3 separate regions of the Homo sapiens genome follow, and regions 1 and 3 are each linked to region 2. The links are contacts of gene promoters, found by promoter capture Hi-C in blood cells and fetal thymus (Javierre and others, 2016). All regions are on one chromosome and are shown on one strand. Each heading gives the region's core, a stretch centred on a gene start or on the middle of the fragment in contact. The rest is flanking DNA. Distances are from core to core; before and after follow the strand shown. Region 1 holds the start of BRMS1L (BRMS1 like transcriptional repressor). Region 2 holds the start of PPP2R3C (protein phosphatase 2 regulatory subunit B''gamma). Region 3 overlaps SNX6 (sorting nexin 6).

What was found. The method cuts DNA at HindIII sites, captures the fragments that hold promoters and counts their contacts. A CHiCAGO score of 5 or more calls a contact.
Region 1: the fragment with the promoter of BRMS1L here is called in contact with the fragment with the promoter of PPP2R3C in region 2 in 1 of 17 cell types (total B cells); the score reaches 5.4 in total B cells.
Region 3: a contact is called between a fragment that was not itself captured here and the fragment with the promoter of PPP2R3C in region 2, in 1 of 17 cell types (erythroblasts). The highest score is 5.1, in erythroblasts.

The regions. Positions count from the first base shown.
Region 1 is chr14:35,825,028-35,827,727 of GRCh38, reverse strand. It overlaps BRMS1L (BRMS1 like transcriptional repressor), which reads right to left and starts at 1,390. Exons shown (of 10, transcript NM_032352.4): 1 at 1,070-1,390. The coding sequence starts at 1,211. RefSeq lists silencers at 830-999, 1,250-1,349. The HindIII fragment of the contact is 11,609 bases long and covers 1-2,700 here.
Region 2 is chr14:35,120,554-35,123,253 of GRCh38, reverse strand. PPP2R3C (protein phosphatase 2 regulatory subunit B''gamma) reads left to right here and starts at 1,264. Exons shown (of 13, transcript NM_017917.4): 1 at 1,264-1,352. The coding sequence starts at 1,295. It overlaps PRORP (protein only RNase P catalytic subunit), which reads right to left and starts at 702. Exons shown (of 8, transcript NM_014672.4): 1 at 619-702; 2 at 1-302. The coding sequence starts at 8. It overlaps PRORP-PSMA6 (PRORP-PSMA6 readthrough), which reads right to left and starts at 1,415. Exons shown (of 15, transcript NR_182666.1): 1 at 1,202-1,415; 2 at 1-302. RefSeq lists enhancers at 209-718, 1-721, 729-808, 1,349-1,478, 722-1,641 and 1 more. The HindIII fragment of the contact is 10,079 bases long and covers 390-2,700 here.
Region 3 is chr14:34,600,682-34,603,381 of GRCh38, reverse strand. SNX6 (sorting nexin 6) reads left to right here. Exons shown (of 14, transcript NM_152233.4): 6 at 1-34. Among named protein-coding and RNA genes, the nearest start is that of SNX6, 28 kb to the left of the region's middle. The HindIII fragment of the contact is 6,636 bases long and covers 1-2,700 here.

The sequences.
Region 1 (2,700 bases), core at 141-2,640, 700 kb before region 2:
ATTTAATCAAGTGGTGACTTATGATAGCTTTTTAAGTGAGCCCAGATAATAACTATTTATCCCTCATATTGAGTACTGTCCAGTGCTGCACAAAGAAGTCACTCATAAATATTTTTGGATGGCTGATTTACTGATTGAAATTATATCCTTCCATGGAGATTTGCTTTGCAAGGGAAACATGAAAAGAGGGCATCTGGGTGATACTAGGCTGTCATCAACCTATCATCAATGCTTCCTTTACATGACCAAAATCAGGCCAAGACAAAGAAGTCAGTCTCATCTCCATCATTTGAATCGAAAGAAAATAATCCCGGTAATCACAAATTCCATTTCACTTTAGAATAACCATTCCTAAAAGTTTGCAAAATTTATTTGTAGTGTTAATCTGCCCTCCTCCCCCACCCAAAATAATTTAAAACAGCCCAAAGTTAGAAAAAACTGAAGGGAAGAAAAGACTTGGAGAATTTTCAACGCTGCCAAAACTCAGCCAATTTATAAGCATATGAAGATCCAAAATGAGCCCGAATGTTGGTCCCTTCCTCTCAGTCTTGCAAACTTCAGGGAGCTACTGAACGGGACCGCTCTCAAGTTAGCCCCCGAAAAGACACTGATGTAAAAGTGCTGACCGGCAAGTTGACTTGCAAACTGAGGTTAATTACTAAGCCGACCCTCTGTCCCGGCAACTCACTTGCGCTGAGAAGTGAGGGTTGCAAAGGTGAAAATAGGGAAAGAGGTCGGTGGGCTGGGGAGAGGAGGCATTTCCAGTTTGTCTGCTGCGGGAAGTTGTCCGCCTGGGCTGGTCGCTCCAGAGCACCACCGGGGGCAGGACCACGCCGCGTTTGGGAGCTGGACAAGCCCAGGCCCGCCCCGCCCCGCCGCCGGGACCCATCAGGAGCCAGACAGCGCCCAGCGACCGGTCAGGGTGCAGCCCAGGGCCCAGAGCCAGTCTCCGCCCCTTCCCTCTGTCCCCGCCCCGCTTTCCCAGCAGGACGCAGCCGCCTGGCGTGCGGAGAGCGGCCTGTCGCGCGCTGGGCGCGGGGACTCAGGGTCCCAGCAGTGGGTCGCGCACCTGAGCTATCTCCATCCTCGGAGACCGACGAGCTCTCAGTGTCCTCGTCCTCGGAGCTGCTCCCCTCATTTTCGGCGTAGTCCACCTCCATCTCATCGTGATGGTTGGTCTCCTTCTTATCCCCTCGGGAATGGACTGGCATTTTCCAGCCGCGCCGTCGCTTTCCACTACCGGCGCCCAGCCCGGCCACCGCCGCTTCAATGAAGGGCGCGCGGAACGCCCCAACCCACCCAGCCACCGAGCTTGCTCGCCCCCTTGGCTCCTCCCCGCCCCCGGCCCGGGCCTCACAACCTAACCCGCAGGCTCTGCGATGGGAGCTCTGCCATTGGCGGAGGCCTTCCACCGAGCCAGAGGGCGGGGGCTTGCCCTGCTCTGGTACGATTGGTTGCCCGCAATTACGACGCGGCCTTCCGATGCTTGCCGGGAGTTGTAGTTCGTAGGTCTCAGACCTGCAGGGGCTGCACGCTTCCATCCCTCGGCAGCCCTGATCACTTCTTCCTTCTGGACTTCAAGTCCCACAAGGCACGAAAGCTGACACTCTGGATCGCAGTTTATAAACTAAACAGAAACAGATTGTGCGAATTTAGTCTGTATTTATCTATTTCCCGCCAAGTGATTGTTTGACCTGCCTGACCATCAGAGATGTTACTGTTAGATGTGAAAATGTCTTTTGCCTAAAAGGATCTTTGCCTGCTCATTGAGCCTGGGGAACTGGAGAACCATCTGTTTTACTAAGCACCTTTATTACCTACCATTAATAAACTGTTTTATTTAATTATTAACTATAGACGATAACTTGCACTTTCTGTGTTGTGCAAAAATCTTTAAATTATTCTTGAAACTTTTACAATACAGAAGGTAAGGAAGTTTTATCTTGGCATTTTCAATCTAATATTTTTGGCATTTATTTTTTACCAAATGCAGTCGGAAAATGCCATCAGTCCTGATTTAACTTTAGTTTTCAATGAAAAATACATACTTAACCAGATGTACTTTCTCAAAAAAAGGGTACATAGCTCCCTCTCCCTCTCCCTCGCCCTCGCCCTCGCCCTCGCCCTCTCCACGGTCTCCCTCTCCCTCTCTTTCCACGGTCTCCCACTGATGCCGAGCCGAAGCTGGACTGTACTGCTGCCATCTCGGCTCACTGCAACCTCCCTGCCTGATTCTCCTGCCTCAGCCTGCCGAGTGCCTGCGATTGCAGGCGCGTGCCGCCACGCCTGACTGGTTTTCGTATTTTTTTGGTGGAGACGGTTTCGCTGTGTTGGCCGGGCTGGTCTCCAGCTCCTAACCGCGAATGATCCGCCAGCCCCGACCTCCCGAGGTGCCGGGATTGCAGACGGAGTCTCGTTCACTCAGTGCTCAATGGTGCCCAGGCTGGAGTGCAGTGGCGTGATCTCGGCTCGCTACAACCACCTCCCAGCCGCCTGCCTTGGCCTCCCAAAGAGCCGAGATTGCAGCCTCTGCCCGGCCGCCACCCCGTCTGGGAAGTGAGGAGCGTCTCTGCCTGGCCGCCCATCGTCTGGGATGTGAGGAGCCCCTCTACCTGGCTGCCCAGTCTGGAAAGTGAGGAGCGTCTCTGCCCGGCCGCCATCCCATCTAGGAAGTGAGGAGCGTCTCTGCCTGGCAGCCCA
Region 2 (2,700 bases), core at 15-2,514:
AAAGTCATTATGCAGTGAGATCAGCACCAGATAGTGAGAGAGATGTTGAAAAAACCCCTCTTCTATGGCAAAATTAAAGAGATTGGGGGTCGGCGGTGCAGAGTCGAAGTGGAACTTTTTAAAAGGTTTGTGTTTCTTCCTTACAGACAAATCAAGGTTCTGCTTTTGGGGCTACTTAAAAGCAAGAAGGCAGGTGAGTTTTCTCTATTAAACAACAATCCGGGGATGTCCAACGTCGCAAGCCGCAAACCAGGGGACAGAGCAGGAATCCTCTGGTGCCTCTTACATTCCAGTTCATGAACCTGAGGAAAAAGCACAAGACGGAACGCCCAGTTTTACTCACGTGGATCACAGCTGTCCTGAAAAGGAACAGATTCCCACGGGAAGCTTGCTGGAAAGGGGGTGTAAAGCCAAAACCGTATCCAGGGACCCCCAACTCCAGCCTACCACCAACAGCGGCGAAAGCCGAAGTCTAGGGGCCCTCACCCTGCATAGCTCTCTACAGACCGCAAAACTCCTCCGGTGGGGGGACGAGGAGGGAGGAGGTGGCGAGTCAGCTGCGCCAACGACTCAGGAAAGGAAGAGAGGTACAGGAAGGGCGCTGCCTAGACTGCGTACCGAACGCTGACAAATGAAGTTCACTTCATTCAACAACTCAAAGCGGCACTCAGACTTAACGCGGCCATAAACGCGGCGGAAACTACAGTGCCCACGATGCACCGCGCCAGCCCCGACCGACGGACGAGACTGACCCGGACTTAGGCGTTCCGCCTGGCCCGGCGGCGAGGAAAAAAGGCAGTTTTGAAGCATTTAGTGGCAAAAGGGGTAGGAGACGGCTGCTGAAGTGTCTACTACATTCAGGGGACCTGGAAGGCTTCCAGATATCCGCAATGAACAATGAAAAGAAATTGTGAAAGAAGGCGCTTCCCTCAAGCCGGAACTAATGAACTCCTGGGTCACGTGGTGCGCACGCGCCAAAGGCACACGATAAAGGAAAACGCGGGCTTATCGTGGCCTTTAAAATCCGGCTTGGTGAGCTTGGGTCGCCTCTGAAGGAGAACCATTTTCCATCTCTTTCATAGTTTTTTCCCCCAGTCAGCGTGGTAGCGGTATTCTCCGCGGCAGTGACAGTAATTGTTTTTGCCTCTTTAGCCAAGACTTCCGCCCTCGATCAAGATGGTGGTTGGACGGCCTTCCTAACCTTTACGGGGCCTGGCGGTGCTGACGCCTGAGCTGGTAGGGGTGGAGCAGGTAGGAAACAGCAAATGCAGAAGCTGCTGCGCGGAAGTCGGCCATGGACTGGAAAGAAGTTCTTCGTCGGCGCCTAGCGACGCCCAACACCTGTCCAAACAGTGAGTTTTGGGAGGGGCAGCCCGTTGGGATGGCCCGGCCCTAAACTCCTAGAGGTAGGGGGGAGGTGGGGAGGAGGAGCAAGGGGGAGCCGCCTTTTCCGCTTCTGTGAAACCTCCCGACAAAGGAGGCGGAGTGGAATGTGGTTTAAGGATCCCGATAGGTTTGACCCAAACTTTCCTGGGGCAGAATCTAGAGGAACGAAAAACTTAGCTTTAGTCACTGACTTCCATGGTCTTAATCTAAACTTGTGAAGAATAACTTGGAACCCCGGCTCCAACAACGCCTGAACCCCACCAGGACCTATAATTGTCCTCCTGCCTTTTTACTGTCACGCTTTTTGCTTCCCTCGTAATCCATTTTATATTTCATAATCCATTTTTCCTTTTATTTTTCTCCTTCACATTGCTTATTAACTAACCTCGTTAAATCTACCTTTCCTATTCCACACCCGCACTAAGGGCTGTTGAAAGTGGCTGGAGAAAAACAGAACCTTGGTGAGTTGTCTCACTTTTTTTTTTGAGACGGAGTCTCTTGCTCTGTCGCCCAGGCTGGCTGGAGTGCAGTGGCAGCATCTCCGCTCACTGCAACCTCTGCCTCCCGGGTTCAAGCGGTTCTTCTGCCTCAGCCTCTGGAGTAGCTGGAACTATAAGCGCGCGCAACCACGGCCGGTTAATTTTTGTATTTCTAGTAGAGACGGGGTTTCGCCATATTGGCCAGGCTGGTCTCAAACTCCTGACCTTGTGATTCGCCCACCTCGGCCTCCCAAAGTGCTGGAATTACAGACGTGAGTCACCGCGCCCCGCCGAGTTATCTCACTTTTAATACAAGTCCACTAATCTAAAGAAGGTGTTTTGGTCATGTCTACCGTGTTTTCCTGGACGTTCATTCTCCTACATTCAATTTTCATCTCCCAAACTGCCAATCTGTGTTTTCCTAAATACACTTTTTTTTTTCCGATACAGGATCTCCCTGTGTTGCCCAGGCTGGAGTGCAGCGGCGCAGTGAAGTATTGCTGCAACCTCGATTTCCTGGGCTCAAGGGATCTTCCCACCCCAGCCTCTTGAGCAGCTAGAAGTACAGGCACACGCCACCACACCCGGCTAATTTTTTATTTTTAGTGGAGATGAGGTCTTGCTATGTTGCCTGGGCTGGTCTCGAATTCCTGGCCTCAGGCAGTCTTCCTACCTCCACCTCCCAAAGTGTTGCTATTACAGACGTGAGCCGCCGCACCCAGGCAACACTCTTTTACACTATTCTTCTCATCTCCTACACCTGCAGTCTGTCCTACCCGCTTCTTACTTTAAGCTGATGAACTTGTATTTTAATATATATCTCATTAAGAAAGGA
Region 3 (2,700 bases), core at 122-2,621, 520 kb after region 2:
AAATTTCCATGTCTTCTTGGAATATAATCAAGATGTGAGTATCACATTGATTGGTGGTCAAGTTTTCTTTTTCTTCTTCTTCTTCTTTTTTTTTTTGAGACGGAATCTCGCTCTGTCTTCCAGGCTGGAGTACAGTGGCATAGTGGCATGATCTTGGCTCACTGCAAGCTCCGCCTCCCGGGTTCATGCCATTCTCCTGCCTCAGCCTCCCTAGTAGCTGGGACTACAGGCGCCTGCCACCACGCCCAGCTAATTTTTTCTATTTTGAAGTAAAGATGGTGTTTCACCGTGTTAGCCAGAATGGTCTCGATCTCCTGACCTCATGATCCACCCACCTCGGCCTCCCAAAGTGCTAGGATTACAGGCGTGAGCCATAGCGCCCAGCCCAAGTTTTTTTTTTTTTTTTGAGACGGAGTCTCGCTCTGTCAGCCAGGCTGGAGTGCAGTGGCGTCATCTCAGCTCACTGCAAGCTCCGCCTCCCGGGTTCATGCCATTCTCCTGCCTCAGCCTCCCGAGTAGCTGGGACTACAGGCGCCCGCCACTATGCCCTGCTAATTTTTTGTATTTTTAGTAGAGACGGGGTTTCACTGTGTTAGCCAGGATGGTCTCGATCTCCTGACCTCGTGATCCACCCACCTCAGCCTCCCAAAGTGCTGGGATTACAGGCATAAGCCACCGTGCCCGGCCCCAAGTTCTCTTTTTAAAGAGTCATTGGAAAAGGCAAGAGTAGTTAGAAAAGGCTCAAGGTCTTTTTTTAGAATGTTTGTATTTTTCTTTTTTTTTTTTTTTTTGAGACAGAGTCTTGCTCTGTCGTCCAGGCTGAAGTGCCGTGGCGCAATCTTGGCTCACTGTGACCTCCTCCTCCCAAGTTCAAGTGATTCTCGTGCCTCAGCCTCCCAAGTAGCTGGGACTACAGGCGCATGCCGCCATGCCCAGCTAATTTTTTTTTTTTTTTTAAGACAGTTTCGCTCTTGTTTCCCAAGCTGGAGTGCAACGGTGCGATCTCAGCTCACCCACAACCTCTGCCTCCTTGGTTCAAGCAATTCTTCTGCCTCAGACTCTCAAGTAGCTGGGATTACAGGAATGCGCCACCATGCCAAGATAATTTTTGTATTTTTAGTAGAGACGGGGTTTCTCCATGTTGGTCAGGCTGGTCTCAAACTCCCAGCCTCAGGTGATCCTCCCACCTTAGCCTCCCAAAGTGCTGGGATTACATGCATGAGCCACTGCGCCCGGCCTAATTTTTGTATTTTTAGTAGAGATGGAGTTTCACCATGTTGGCCAGGCTGGTCTCGAACTCCTGACCTCAGGTGATCCACCTGCCTCAGCCTCCCAAAGTGCTGGGATTAGAGGCGTGAGCCGCACCTGGCCTGTTTGTATTTTTCAAGGTAGTTTAAGTGACACTTTTTCAGTAGTAATGCAGTTATTTCAGTAGAACTTGAGTAGATTAATTGACAGAATGATAGTTAAGCATGTTACTAGCCAGGCATGGTGGCTCATGCCTGTAACCTGTAATCCCAGCACTTTGGGAGGCCAAGCCGGGCAGATCACCTGAGGTCAGGAGTTCGAGACGAGCCTGGCCAACATGGTGAAACCCCATCTGTACTAAAAATACAAAAATTATCTGGGCATGGTGGTGGGCGCCTGTAATCCCAGCTACTCGGGAGGCTAAGACAGGAGAATCACTTGAACCTGGGAGGCGGAGGTTGCAGAGAGCCAAGATGGTGCCATTGCACTCCAGCCTGGGGGACAAGACTGAAATTCCCATCTCAAAAAATAAAAATAAAAAATAAATCATGTTACTACAAGGGACACTGATTTTTTTTGTAATCCTTAATTGCAAACCTCTTAAGAAGTAGGAGCCAGGCACGGTGGCTCAGCCTATAATCCAGCACTTTGGGAGGCCGAGGTGGGCGGATCACGAGGTCAGGAGTTTGAGACCAGCCTGGCCAATATGGTGAAACCCCGTCTCTACTTAAAATACAAAAATTAGCTGGGCTTGGTGGCGCATGCCTGTAGTCCCAGCTACTCGGGAGACTGAGGCAAGAGAATCGCTTGACCCCGGGAGGCGGAGGTTGCAGTGAGCCAAGGTTGCGCCACTGCATTCCAGCCTGGGTGACAAAGCGAGACTCCGTCTCAAAAAAAAAAAAAAAAAAAAAAAAGAAATAGGGTTATCACATTGACTAATGTTTCTTAAATTTGAGTTTGGAGTCTTCCGAAGCCTTGTGGAGAATTCCAAGGAGGTGATTGAGCTAAAGAATTCCAGATTCGGGTAAATTATTGACTCTGGATCTGTTTAACTGACCATTGGTGCTGATCACTCCTTATTTTTTCCTTCCCTGCCTAAAAACTCTCTTTTTTTTTTTTTGAGGCAGAGTCTCTGTCGCCCAGGCTGGAGTGCAATGGCACTGTATCGACTCAGTACAACCTCTGCTTCCCAGGTTCAAGCGACTCCTCTGCCTCCACCTCCCGAGTAGCCACCATACCTGGCTAATTCTTATATTTTAATAGAGACAGGGTTTCACCATATTGGTCAGGCTGGTCTCGAACTCCTGACCTCAGGTGATCTGCCTGCGTCGGCCTCCCAAGGTGCTGGGATTACAGGTGTGAGCCACCATGCCTGGCCGAGGTGATTGCACTTTAAAGATTTCTTCGTTCATAGTGCTGGCAAAAAATTTTTTACTGAATGACTGATACAAA